4 separate regions of the Homo sapiens genome follow, and regions 1, 2 and 4 are each linked to region 3. Evidence: promoter capture Hi-C in 16 types of primary human blood cells and fetal thymus (Javierre and others, 2016). All regions are on one chromosome and are shown on one strand. Each heading gives the region's core, a stretch centred on a gene start or on the middle of the fragment in contact. The rest is flanking DNA. Distances are from core to core; before and after follow the strand shown. Region 1 has its middle 7.1 kb from the start of ZNF562. Region 2 holds the start of ZNF846 (zinc finger protein 846). Region 3 holds the start of ZNF559 (zinc finger protein 559). Region 4 has its middle 11 kb from the start of FBXL12.

Evidence for each region. Contacts are between HindIII fragments. The CHiCAGO score rates a contact against its expected background, and 5 or more counts as called.
Region 1: a contact is called between a fragment that was not itself captured here and the fragment with the promoter of ZNF559 in region 3, in 2 of 17 cell types (activated CD4 T cells and monocytes). The highest score is 6.1, in activated CD4 T cells.
Region 2: a contact is called between the fragment with the promoter of ZNF846 here and the fragment with the promoter of ZNF559 in region 3, in 12 of 17 cell types (total CD8 T cells, non-activated CD4 T cells, neutrophils and 9 more). The highest score is 13.6, in total CD8 T cells.
Region 4: a fragment that was not itself captured here is called in contact with the fragment with the promoter of ZNF559 in region 3 in 2 of 17 cell types (non-activated CD4 T cells and naive CD4 T cells); the score reaches 5.5 in non-activated CD4 T cells.

What each region holds. Positions count from the first base shown.
Region 1 is chr19:9,680,673-9,683,647 of GRCh38, reverse strand. It overlaps the pseudogene RPS4XP22. Among named protein-coding and RNA genes, the nearest start is that of ZNF562, 7.1 kb to the right of the region's middle. RefSeq lists an enhancer at 2,639-2,975. The HindIII fragment of the contact is 1,511 bases long and covers 802-2,312 here.
Region 2 is chr19:9,767,245-9,770,038 of GRCh38, reverse strand. ZNF846 (zinc finger protein 846) reads left to right here and starts at 1,301. Exons shown (of 6, transcript NM_001077624.3): 1 at 1,301-1,750. RefSeq lists enhancers at 1,017-1,236, 508-1,373 and a silencer at 1,317-1,486. The HindIII fragment of the contact is 9,482 bases long and covers 1-2,794 here.
Region 3 is chr19:9,322,922-9,325,672 of GRCh38, reverse strand. ZNF559 (zinc finger protein 559) reads right to left here and starts at 1,494. Exons shown (of 7, transcript NM_032497.3): 1 at 1,445-1,494; 2 at 893-978. It overlaps ZNF559-ZNF177 (ZNF559-ZNF177 readthrough), which reads right to left and starts at 1,494. Exons shown (of 13, transcript NM_001384659.1): 1 at 1,445-1,494; 2 at 893-978. RefSeq lists a silencer at 1,091-1,230 and an enhancer at 1,401-1,650. The HindIII fragment of the contact is 3,488 bases long and covers 1-2,751 here.
Region 4 is chr19:9,806,810-9,809,655 of GRCh38, reverse strand. No RefSeq gene overlaps it. Among named protein-coding and RNA genes, the nearest start is that of FBXL12, 11 kb to the left of the region's middle. The HindIII fragment of the contact is 1,440 bases long and covers 765-2,204 here.

The DNA of each region.
Region 1 (2,975 bases), core at 308-2,807, 360 kb before region 3:
CGCCATCTGCTACCCTGATCCCCTTATCAAGGTGAATGATACCATTCAGATTGATTTAGAGACTGGCAAGATTACTGATTTCATCAAGATTGACACTGGAACCTGTGTATGGTGACTGGAAGTGCTAACCTGGGAAGAATTGGTGTGATCAACAGAGAGCGGCACCCTCGATCTTTCAAAGTGGTTTACGTGAAGGATGCCAAAGGCAACAGATTTGCCACTAGATTTTCCAACATTTTTGTTATTGGCAAGGGCAACAGACCATGGATTTCTCTTCCCCGAGGAAAGGGTATCCGCCTCACTATTGCAGAAGAGACAGACAAAAGACTGGTGGCCAAACAGAGTGGTGGATGAAATGGTCCCTGAGTGACATTTTAGATCTTTGTACATAATTAAAAATAATGTGGCATGGCCGGGCACAGTGGCTCACGCCTCTAATCCCAGCACTTTGGAAGGCCGAGGTGGGTGGATCACGAGGTCAGGTGTTCGAGATCAGCTTGACCAACATGGTGAAGCCCTGTCTTTACTAAAAAGAAATACAAAAAGTAGCCGGGCATGGTGGCATGCACCTGTAATCCCAGCTACTCAGGAAGCAATGGCAGGAGAATCACTTGAACCTGGGAGGTAGAGGTTGCAGTGAGCTGAGATCGCACCACTGCACTCCAGCCTGGGAGACAGCAAGCCTCCATCTTAATAATAATAATAATGTGGCATGATTTTTAAAAAATGGATCAAAAACCTAAGTGTAGTGTAAGAGCTAGAGCTGAAAACCTATTAGAAGAAAACATAGGTGAGAAAGCTTCATGATATTGGAATTGGAAATGACTTCTTAGTTATGTCATCAACCACACAGGCAACACAAGAAAAATTATGAGTTGAACCTAATCAATAATACAAATTTTTTGCATCAAAGCATAATAACAAGAGAATGAAAAGACAATCTACAAATGGGAGAAAATATTTTCAAGTCCTGTATCCGACTGGGGACAAATATCTGGAGTTTATTTTTAAAATTTCTAGAACCCGAGAGTAACAACAACAAAACCCAATTCAAATACAGAAAAAGGACTTGAATAATATCACCAAAGAAGATACACAGATGGCCAATAAACACAGGAAAAGATGCTCATGAAAAGATGCTTAACATCACTAAACATCATGAAAATGAAAATCAAAACCATGCTGGATGTGATGGCTCACACCTGTAATCCCAGCACTTTGGGAGGCTCAGGGTGAGGGATTTCTTGAGACTAAGAGTTCAAGACCAGCCTGGGCATATTGTGAGATTTCATTTTTACAAAAAAGATTTTTTAATTCAGCCAGGCATGGTGGTGGCATGCACTTGTAATCCCTGCTACTCGAGAGGCTAAGGTGGGATGATTACCTGAGCTCAGTAGGTTGAGGACTGCAGTAATCCATGATCATGTCACTGCATTCCAGCCTAGACAACAGAGTGAGACCCTATCTCAAACAAACAAACAAGATTAAACAGAATTACCATATGATCCAGACATTCCACTTTGGCATATATATCCAAAAGTGTTGAGAGCAGGTGCTCAAAGAAATATTTGTACACCAATGTTTATCTCACTAGTATTCACAATAGCCAATCCCTGCCAAACTGCAATTTTAACACACTTGATTGTTTGAAACATAGCATGAACAAGCCTATTTTTAGCCATCTCGAGTGTGCCTTCTTTGTATTCTCTGAAATTATGTGCAATATCTGATAGCCATAGATAAGATAACTCCAGAGGCTATGAAAATCCCATCCCCCTGCTGTCCTGCAGAACCTTTTTTTTTTTTTTTCTTTTGAGATGGAGTCTCACTCTGTTGTCCAGACTGGAGTGCAGTGGCAAGATCTCGGCTCACTGCAACTTCCACCTCCCGGCTTCGAGTGTTTCTCCTGCCTCAGCCTCCTGAGTAGCTGGGATTACAGGTGCACGCCACCACGCCCGGCTAATTTTTGTATTTTTAGTAGAGATGGGGTTTCACCATGTTGGTCAGGCTGGTCTTGAACACCTGTCCTCGTGATCCGCCCCACTGGCCTCCCAAAGTGCTGGGATTATAGGCATGAGCCTTCTTGCCCGGCCCTTCAGAGCTTTTTAACTGGAAGATATGCTGTCAGTTTGGTGAGTATCATCATTTAGTTATTTATAAGCCCCCTCTTTGATTCCCTTTCTCCTCTGGGAGTCTCTCTTCCTTTCCACGCTTTCTGAGAAGTGACCCACAGGTAGAAGCCTGTGGATACTCTCTTGCTGTTTCCTACCTCCGCAACTGCTAACCTGTGAAAGCACATCCCAAATGAAGCTTGTATGCTATTGCCGCCTTGTAGTTACATCTTTTTCCTTACTCAGCCAAGAAATCACTTGAACACCTTACATGCGTGTATGGTTTTATTTTTCACACTTAGATTACTAGTCCATTTGGAGTATATTGTATATGATATGAAGTATAGATTTAATTTCATCTTTTCTCTGATAGCTAACCAACTGTCTTAGACTTTCCATTACAAATGGCATTTTTTCCCTATCGATCTGAAACACCACTTTTTTTTTTTTTTTGACATGGAGTTTTGCTTTTATTGCCCAAGCTAGAGTGCATTGGCACGATCTCGGCTCACTGCAACCTCTGCTTCCTGGGTTGAAGCGATTCTCCTGCCTCAGCCTCCCGAGTAGCTGGGATTACAGGCACCTGCCACCACACCTGGCTATTTTTTTTTTTTAATTGATCATTCTTGGGTGTTTCTCGCAGAGGGGGATTTGGCAGGGTCATAGGACAATAGTAGAGGGAAGGTCAGCAGATAAACAAGTGAACAAAGGTCTCTGGTTTTCCTAGGCAGAGGACCCTGCGGCCTTCCGCAGTGTTTGTGTCCCTGGGTACTTGAGATTAGGGAGTGGTGATGACTCTTAACGAGCATGCTGCCTTCAAGCATCTGTTTAACAAAGCATATCTTGCACCGCCCTTAATCCATT
Region 2 (2,794 bases), core at 52-2,551, 440 kb before region 3:
TATCAGAGGCACAGAGCATTTTATGGATTAACAGGTTAATCTTTTTTTTTTTTTTTTTGAGACGGAGTCTCACTCTGTCGCCCAGGCTGGAGTACTGTGGCATCGTATCAGCTCACTGCAACCTCAGTCTCCTAGGTTCAAGCAATTCTCCTGCCTCAGCCTCTCGAGTAGCTGGGATTACAGGCGCCCACCACCACACCCGGCTATTTTTTAAAAAATATTTTTAGTAGAGATGGGGTTTCGGCATGTTGGCCAGGCTGGTCTCGAACTCCTGAACTCACGTGTTCCACCCGCCTCGGCTTCCCAAAGTGCTGGGATTACAGGCGTGAGCCACTGCCCCCAGCCCCATCAGGTTAATCTTTCAAACAGGGTGTCGCTGGTCTCGAACTCCTGGGCTCAAGCGATTCTCCCGCAGTAGCTAGGACTACAGCGGGATTATCTTTGTAAATATGTTTATATCCCTGCAGAGGGTTGAAGAAACAAGGAGAAAATCCTGCAGAAAAGAATTTCCCTAGGGTGGTGGCTCACGCCTATAATCCCAGCACTTTGGGAGGCCAAGGTGGAAGGATCACTGGAGCCCAGGAGTTCCAGATCAGCCTGGGTAACAAAGAGAGACCCTGTCTCTACAAAAAAATAAAAATAAAATAAAAATAAATTAGCCAGGCGTGGTGGCACACACCTGTGGTCCAAGCTGCTTGGGAGGCCGAGGGGGGAGGATCCTTTAGGCTCAGGAGTTCGAGACCAGCCTAGGGAACACAGTGAGACCCAAGTGTCTAGAAAAAGATAACTTAGCTGGGCGTGATGGGCCCAACTGTGGTCCAAGCTACTCCGGAGGCCGAGGCGGGAGGATAGCTTCAGCGCAGGAATTCCAGGCTGCAATGATCTATGACCGAGCCACTGCACTCCAGCCTAGGCGACAGACCGGAGCCTTATCTCAAAAAACTAAAAAGAGAAATTAAAAAAGAAAAGAAAAGCACTCGATGAGCATCCCGCTGTCTGCAATCGAAGCCTTAGGTGACGCCTCCACGCGTGCCCCGCCCGCTGCGCCAGTCCCCGCCTCCAACCCGGCCCTTGGCGCTGGGTTTCCTGGTCCGGCGTCGTTCCCAATATCGACAGATTGATCTGGATCCTGGTCCACCTGGGATGCGAGAAAACGGGACTTTTCTGTACGCGTGTCGAAGAGGTGGCCCCAGCTCTTCTCTCAGCTTCACATCATCCTCATTCCAAAGCTCTTGGGGCTCGGCCCCTACACTTAATGCCGTGCGCAACCGGAAGCGGAAGTGCCAGCCGGCGCGCAGCTATACGTATTCCCCGCTCTCCAGCAGCTTCCTAGCTGGGTTTTCACCTCAGCCAGCGCTCATGCTCAACCTAGGCAGGGCGGGGCAGGAGGGCCTAGCGGGAGGCGGAGCGAGGGTCGGAGGGTGACGCTCCGGACTTCTGCTAGGTCTGAGACGCGCCGGCCTCCCGCTGCTGCTCCGGAGAAGCGGCGCCTCCTCCCCGCCAGGACCCCGAGGCGGGGGGTTCCCGCCTTCTCTTCTGAGCGCCTCTTCCCGCTGCGCCCGCATCAGTCTGGGCCTGGCCCAGGGTCCCCGGTGGAGACGTGTTTTTTTCTCCAACCACCGTGCCCCTCTGTTTAAAAGCAGCCAGTCAACCTTTGTGTCCTTTCTCCAGAAGGAAAAGCATCTCAGCTGTTGTGGAAAAGGGCCCCAGCGTCCTCTTGTCACCGACAGGGCGATTGCAGTGCGTTCCGGTGAGCCCTGGACGGAGGAGATGATCTGGCTGTGGGAGGGCATCGCTTATTGAAGTTTGCGAAATTGCTCAGCAGTTAAATGCTTTGTCAAGTGTGCAGGAGTTGTAGGTTTATAGAAATAAAAGCAAATATTGCCACAGTTATAAAGCAAAGTAGCAATACTCCGCTGTGTTTTTGAGATCAAAAGCAGCTGAACTTCCTAGGTCAGTACCTCCCAAAGAGCTTCAAAACGGAGGGGCTTCCAGGAAGTAGGATGCCGCCTTCATTATACCAGTATCAGAAATTACAGTTGTATTAACTGTGAAAGAGACATGTTTTGATTCAGCGTTTTTCCTCTCGTATATATACATATTTTGAGACGGAGTTTCGCTCTTATTGCCCAGGCTGGAGTGCAATGGCGTGATATAGGCTCACTGTAAACTCTGTCTCCCGGTCCAAGCGATTCTCCTGCCTCAGCATGCTGAGTAACTGGGATTACAGGCATGTGCCACCACGCCCGGCTAATTTTGCATTTTTAGTAGAGACGGGGTTTCACCATGTTGGTTGGGCTGGTCTCGAACTCCTGACCTCGTGATCCACCCTCCTCGGACTCCCAAAGTGCTGGAATTACAGGTATAAGCCACCGCGCCTGGCCTTCCCCCTCATATATTTTTATTTATTTATTTACGTTTTAAAGACAGGGTCTTGGTTTGTTGCCCAGGCTATCTGTAGATTGAATATTCTAAACCAAAGAAAATGTGAAAGGCCAGAATATTGAACACCTATTATATATCCTTGTTGTAGACTGATCATTTGTTAATATTTTGCATGTTTTCTGTTTCTTTGCATCTCTTGTGTAGATCAATGTGTATTGGCCGGGTGCGGTAACTTAAACACCTGTAATCCTGGCACTTTGGGAGGCCGAGGTGGGCGGTTCACCTGAGGTTGGGAGTTCCAGACCAGCCCGACCAACATGGAGAAACCCTGTCTCTACTAAAAATACAAAATTAGCCAGGTGTGGTGGGGCATGCCTGTAATCTTAGCTACTCGGGAGGCTGAGGCAGG
Region 3 (2,751 bases), core at 245-2,744:
CTGGGATTACAGGTGCCCACGCCCGGCTAATTTTTTGTATTTTGAGTAAAGACGGGGTTTCACTATGTTGGCCAGGCTGGTCTCAAACTCCTGACCTCGTGATCCGCCAGCCTCAGCCTCCCAACATGCTGGGATTACAGGCGTGAGCCACCACACCTGGACTAAAGACATTTGTTTTACTCGAGCTACAGATGTTCTCTAGATCAGTATTTGTTTTTTTTTCTTCTTTTTGAAACAGGGTCTCACTCTGTTGCCTAAGCTGGAATGCAGTGACACAATAATGGCTCACAGCAGCCTCGACCTCCCATGCTCAAGTGATCCTCGCATCTCGGCCTCCAAAGTGGATGGGACCACAGACACCACCATGCCCAGCTAATTTTTTATTTTTAGTAGAGACAGAGGCTTGCCCTATTTTTTCCAGGTTGGCATCAAATTCCTGGGCTCAAGCGATCCTCCAGCCTCAGCCTCCCAAAACGCTGGGATTACAGGTGTGAGCCACCTTGCCCCGCCCTCAGTAAGACTTTCAAATGAGTAACTGGTAGAAAACCCACCTGTCAAAAGTTATCTTCGCATTCATTATCAATTCAATCCCTCCTGCTAGTAAATCAGCCCGCACCGTGTTCCTGGGGATGCCCTCGTTTTGAACCTCTGGGGGAATCTACAGGGCGCTAGAGTGAGATCTAGGTGATGGCCTGGAACCACAGTTGAGTAGTCCTGTGTTTTTCCTTGGTGGTAAATTTTACAGTTATGTGCATTCATCCACTCATGCATTCGATGGTATCAGATCCATGTGCTCTCGAACAACCACCTGAAAAGGTTTCTTTCCACCTCGACACAACTTAAACTTCAAGACCCGACACCCACAGCCAGAACAAGTGCATGAAGTGCTCACCGGGACACGACAGAATTGTCAGGTTGCTGAGGCCAGGAGGACACCAAGCGAAGGTCACCGTGAACAGGAAGGCAGAGATGCTGTTCCTTATAGAGAAAAGGCACAACGCTGGATGTGGAGACTTTTTTTTTTTTTTCCATTAGAGATGGTTGGGGGGGGGGGTCTCCCTATGTTGCCCTGCCTGGTCTTGAACTCCTGGCCTCAAGTAATCCTCCTACCCAATCCGCCCAAAGCGCTGGGAATGACAGGCGTGAGCCGCCGCGCCGGGCCCTATGAGGCTTCTGCAGAGGGGAGCAGGGAAAATGGAAAGGCCGTGCCCCCCGCCTCCTCCCGGGCCGAGGCCCCAGCGCAGCCGCCTCGACCCCTGAGGACAGACCTGACTGTGGCTCTCAGAGGAGGGGCCGCGACTTGGGAGAGCCCACAAGATGCTCGAAATGCCCGAAAGTGCACGGGACAGGCTCCATTTCACTGGGCACCTCCCCTTTCCACCCTTCTACTCTCGCGTGGCTGCACCGGGACACCACCGAACGCCGCCCAGAAACAAAAACTTACCTCAGACGCCAACGGGAACGCGCTGTTAAGATGGCGGCCGTTATGCGCATGCGCCCACGCAGACACGCCGCGCACGCGCAAAGGCTAGGACCACCTAGGGGGCGGGGCCTCGGGTTCCCGGGCCCATCAGCTGCTGCGGCTTTTTCCAACCCAGAGCTGAGAGGAAATGCTGTTTACCTCCCCGAAGAGCGCAAGTGTCACCGGTAGGGGGTCTTGACTGCAAGCTGTCCAGGTTACTGGCGTTTTGAACAAAGAATTAGACAAAACGCCCAGCAAAGCAAAGAAAGAATGAAGCAACAAAAGAACAAGAGCTGGGATTTGTTGAAAACGAAAGCATACTCCACAGTGTGGGAACTGGCCAAGCGGCAGCTCAAGGGCTCCGAAACAGAACCTTCATGAGTCCCAATACCTCCTAGAATTTTCCCATTGGCCACTTCATGCTCACCTCCTGTAAATGAAGCGGTAGCCCGCGTTCAGTCTGATTGGTTGCAGAAAGCAGCCAACCAGAGTCTGAAGTTACAAAGGTCACACTCCTGTGCAAACATCTGATTGGTTGCAAAAAGCAACCAATCAAAGGCTAGGGTGAAGTTACGACGTTACAAAGTTACACTTCTATGCAAATGAAGACTCAACCGGCCATCAGTCTGATTTGTTGCAGACAGCCAATTTCCTATCTGCCAGCAGAAAAGGTCAAAGGGAGTAGCCTCTGGTCCTTTTGTTATTTAGGCGAGGAAAGTGAGGGTTTTCCTTTCAATTTAGTTCTAGGAAGTCGGCCTGAAACAGCCTTAAGTTCCCTGCCTCCCGACTCTATTCAGCCTCACAAGGGCTTGATTTTTGGTCATCTCACACTCAGAGACTAGAATGCTCCTATTGGAATTTGTTCAAAAATTAGCACATAGAGGCTGGGCCTGATGGCTCACGCCAGTGATCCCAGCACTTTGGGAGGCTGAGGCAGGCAGACCACTTGAGCTCAGGAGTTCGAGACCAGCCTGGGCAATATGGCAAAACCCTATTCCTATAAAAAAGACAAAAAACACAAAAATTAGGACGTAGTTAAGAGCATAGATAAGATTCATGCGGACTTCCTAAAAGTGAAAACACCAAGATCTGGGGTCGGGGAATCTAAGGCCAATTCGTGATAATTTCCTAAAGTTAAATCAAAGGAAAAACACCTGGGGCTGGGGGCAGGGCACCTAAGGCCAATTAACACAAACTTCCTGAAGCTAAACCAAAAGGAAAAACCCCATCTCCCCAAGATCAAAGACTACTCTCTCTACAGTAAAAAGTAAAGTAGAGGTTCCTCTTCA
Region 4 (2,846 bases), core at 235-2,734, 480 kb before region 3:
AGAAGAGGAAAGGCCAGCACTGCTAAGATGAGAATGAACTTGGCATTTTCCAGAAACAGAAAGAAGGTTGTGTGGCAGAGTGAGCAGGGGTAAGAGCTGTCGAAGTTGAGGTCAGGGCCGGGCATGGTGGCTCACATGTGTAAACCCAGCACTTTGGGAGGCTGAGGTGGGTGGATCACTTGAGCCCAGGAGTTTAAGGCCAACCTGGGACATCTGAGGCAAGTGAATCACTTTGAGTTCAGGAGTTTGAGACCAGCTTGGGCAACATGGTGAAACCCTGTCTCTACAGAAAAAATTAGCCAGGTGTGGTGGTGTGCATCTACCCAGCTGGTATCCCAGCTATTCAGGAGGCTGAGGTGGGAGGATTGCTTAAGCCTGGGACTCGGAGGTTGCAGTGAACTGTGATCACCACTGCACTCCAGACTGGGTGACAGAGTGAGACCCTGTCTCAAAAAAAAAAAAAATAAAACAAAAGGAGATAATGGGGACAGGAGTGGGCAGGGCCTTGCAGGTGGCTCAGGCTTTAGGGGTTCAGTAAGTAACACCACCTTTTCCTGCCTTTCGAGTCTGAACCACTTGAAAGATGCAGGTGTCAGATTATAAGTGTGAGTGCCTACCCGTGAGATGAGCGTTGCTGTGTGTGGCTAAGCCCCGGCTCTGTGGGTTCACCACCTGCTCAGCAGGCCCAGGTGCCTCCTCTGGTGCTTAGAGCCAGGTTGGAGAAGAGAGCTGAGCTGGGTACACTTGGTTTCTTATTCCAAGCTTACCCATCAGAGAAGAGCCAGAGATGTTCCTCCCATGCTCTTCCCACTCAGAGTTGCAGTAGAAATTCCTTCTCTTTCTGTCTCTCTTTTTTTTTTTTTTTTGAAACGGAGTCTTGATCTGTTGCCCAGGCTGGAGTGGTGCAGTGGTGCAATCTTAGCTCACTGCAACCTCTGCCTCCCAGGATCAAATGATTCTCCTGCCTCAGCCTCCTAAGTAGCTGGGAATACAGGCGTGTGCCACCATGCCTGGCTAATTTTTGTATTTTTAGTAGAGTTGGAGTTTCACCATATTGGTCAGGCTGGTCTCAAACTCCTGACCTTGTGATCTGCCCACCTTGGCCTCCCAAAGTGCTGGGATTACAGGTGTGAGCCACTGCGCCCAACCTTTTTTTTTTTTTTTTTTTTTTTTTTAAATAGAGATGGGGCCAGGCACGGTGTGTCCCATGCCTGTAATCCCAGCACTTTGGGACACCAAGGCGGGAGGATCATCTGAGGTCAGGAGTTCGAGACCAGCCTGGCCAACATGGTGAAACCCCGTCTCTACTAAAAATACAAAGATTAGCTGGACTTGGTGGCACATGCCTATAATCCCAGCTACTCAGGAGGCTGAGGCAGGAGAATCGCTTGAACCCTGGAGTGGGAGGTTGCAGAGAGCCGAGATTGTACCACTGCACTCCAGTCTGGGCAACAGAGAGAGACTCTGTTTCAAAAATAAATATAGATAGATAGATAGGAGGTTGCAGAGAGCCGAGATTGTGCCACTGTACTCCAGCCTGGGCAACAGAGAGAGACTCTGTTTCAAAAATAAATATAGATAGATAGATAGACAGACAGGTAGACAGACAGAGACAGGAGTCTCCCTATGTTGCCAAGACTGGTCTCGAACTCCTGGGCTCAAGCCATCCTACTTCAGCCTCCCAAGTAGCTGGGACCACAGGAATGTGCCACCACACCTAGCTACTTTTTATTTTTTGTAGAGATGGGGGTCTCACTGTGTTGCCCAGGCTGGTCTCTAACTCCTGAGTGCAAATGATCCTCCTGCCTTGGCCTCCCAAAATACTGGGATTACAGGCATGAGCCACCTCACCTGAAATTCCTTCTCCATCTGGCCACATGAGGACTAGGCTATGAGTGTGCCCCTGATGTGGCCCTAGTCAAGGTCTGATTGTCCAATGCTGTGACCACCCCAGCAGCTCCAGCCCAGGACATCAGGGGGCTGGGTTGAACCAGGTAGAAACAGAGATTGGTGAAGTCTCAGAGCCTGTGGGAACAAGGAGGGAAATGAGGTTTGTTTTGCTTGCAGAGAGTGTCTGGAGAGCTGGGGTCAGTTTGGGAGAACATGAGGGTGACTCAACACCAGCCCTGTGCTGGACTCTGCAGGTGGTTCTGGAAGTGCATTGCCGATGCCCCAACCTGGAACAACTCTAGGGCAAAAAAGCTTCCTTTCTTTTTCCTCTCTGCCTTTCCAGTTGGAAGGGAGGGAGCAGCAGGCATTCGTTTTAGTTTTTTTGTTTGTTTTTTGGAGATGCTAGTCTCACTCTGTCACCTAAGCTGGAGTGCAATGGTGCGATCTCAGCTCACTGCAACCTCTGCCTCCAAGGTTTATGCTGCAGCCTGCCTCAGCCTCCTGAGTACCTGGGATTACAGGCACATGCCACCACACCCAGCCAATTTTTATATTTTTAGGAGATGGGGTTTCACCATGTTGGCCAGGCTGGTCTCAAACTCCTGGCCTTAAGTGATCCGCCTGCTTTAGCGTCCCAAAGTGCTGGGATTACAGGTGTGAGCCGCTGCAACTGGCCAGCAGGCATTAATTTTGAAGCAGGTAAGTGTTTACAGGCAGTGCTAGCAGGTGGGGGAAGAAGGCCCTGATCTGTAGCATTTGCAGATTACTATGGTGTAAACACTGTCTCACCACAGCTGGTTTCAAGCTACCAACAGTTTAACAACTGGCTCACAAAATAGTTGAAGATTCAGCATTTGGCTCTCCTGAGCTGTGGCATACCACTGGTTACAGGTGTCTTCTTCCTGGGCTTACCCTATGGAGAATTCATTCTGCCTTAGTGACCTCTAACATGGGCC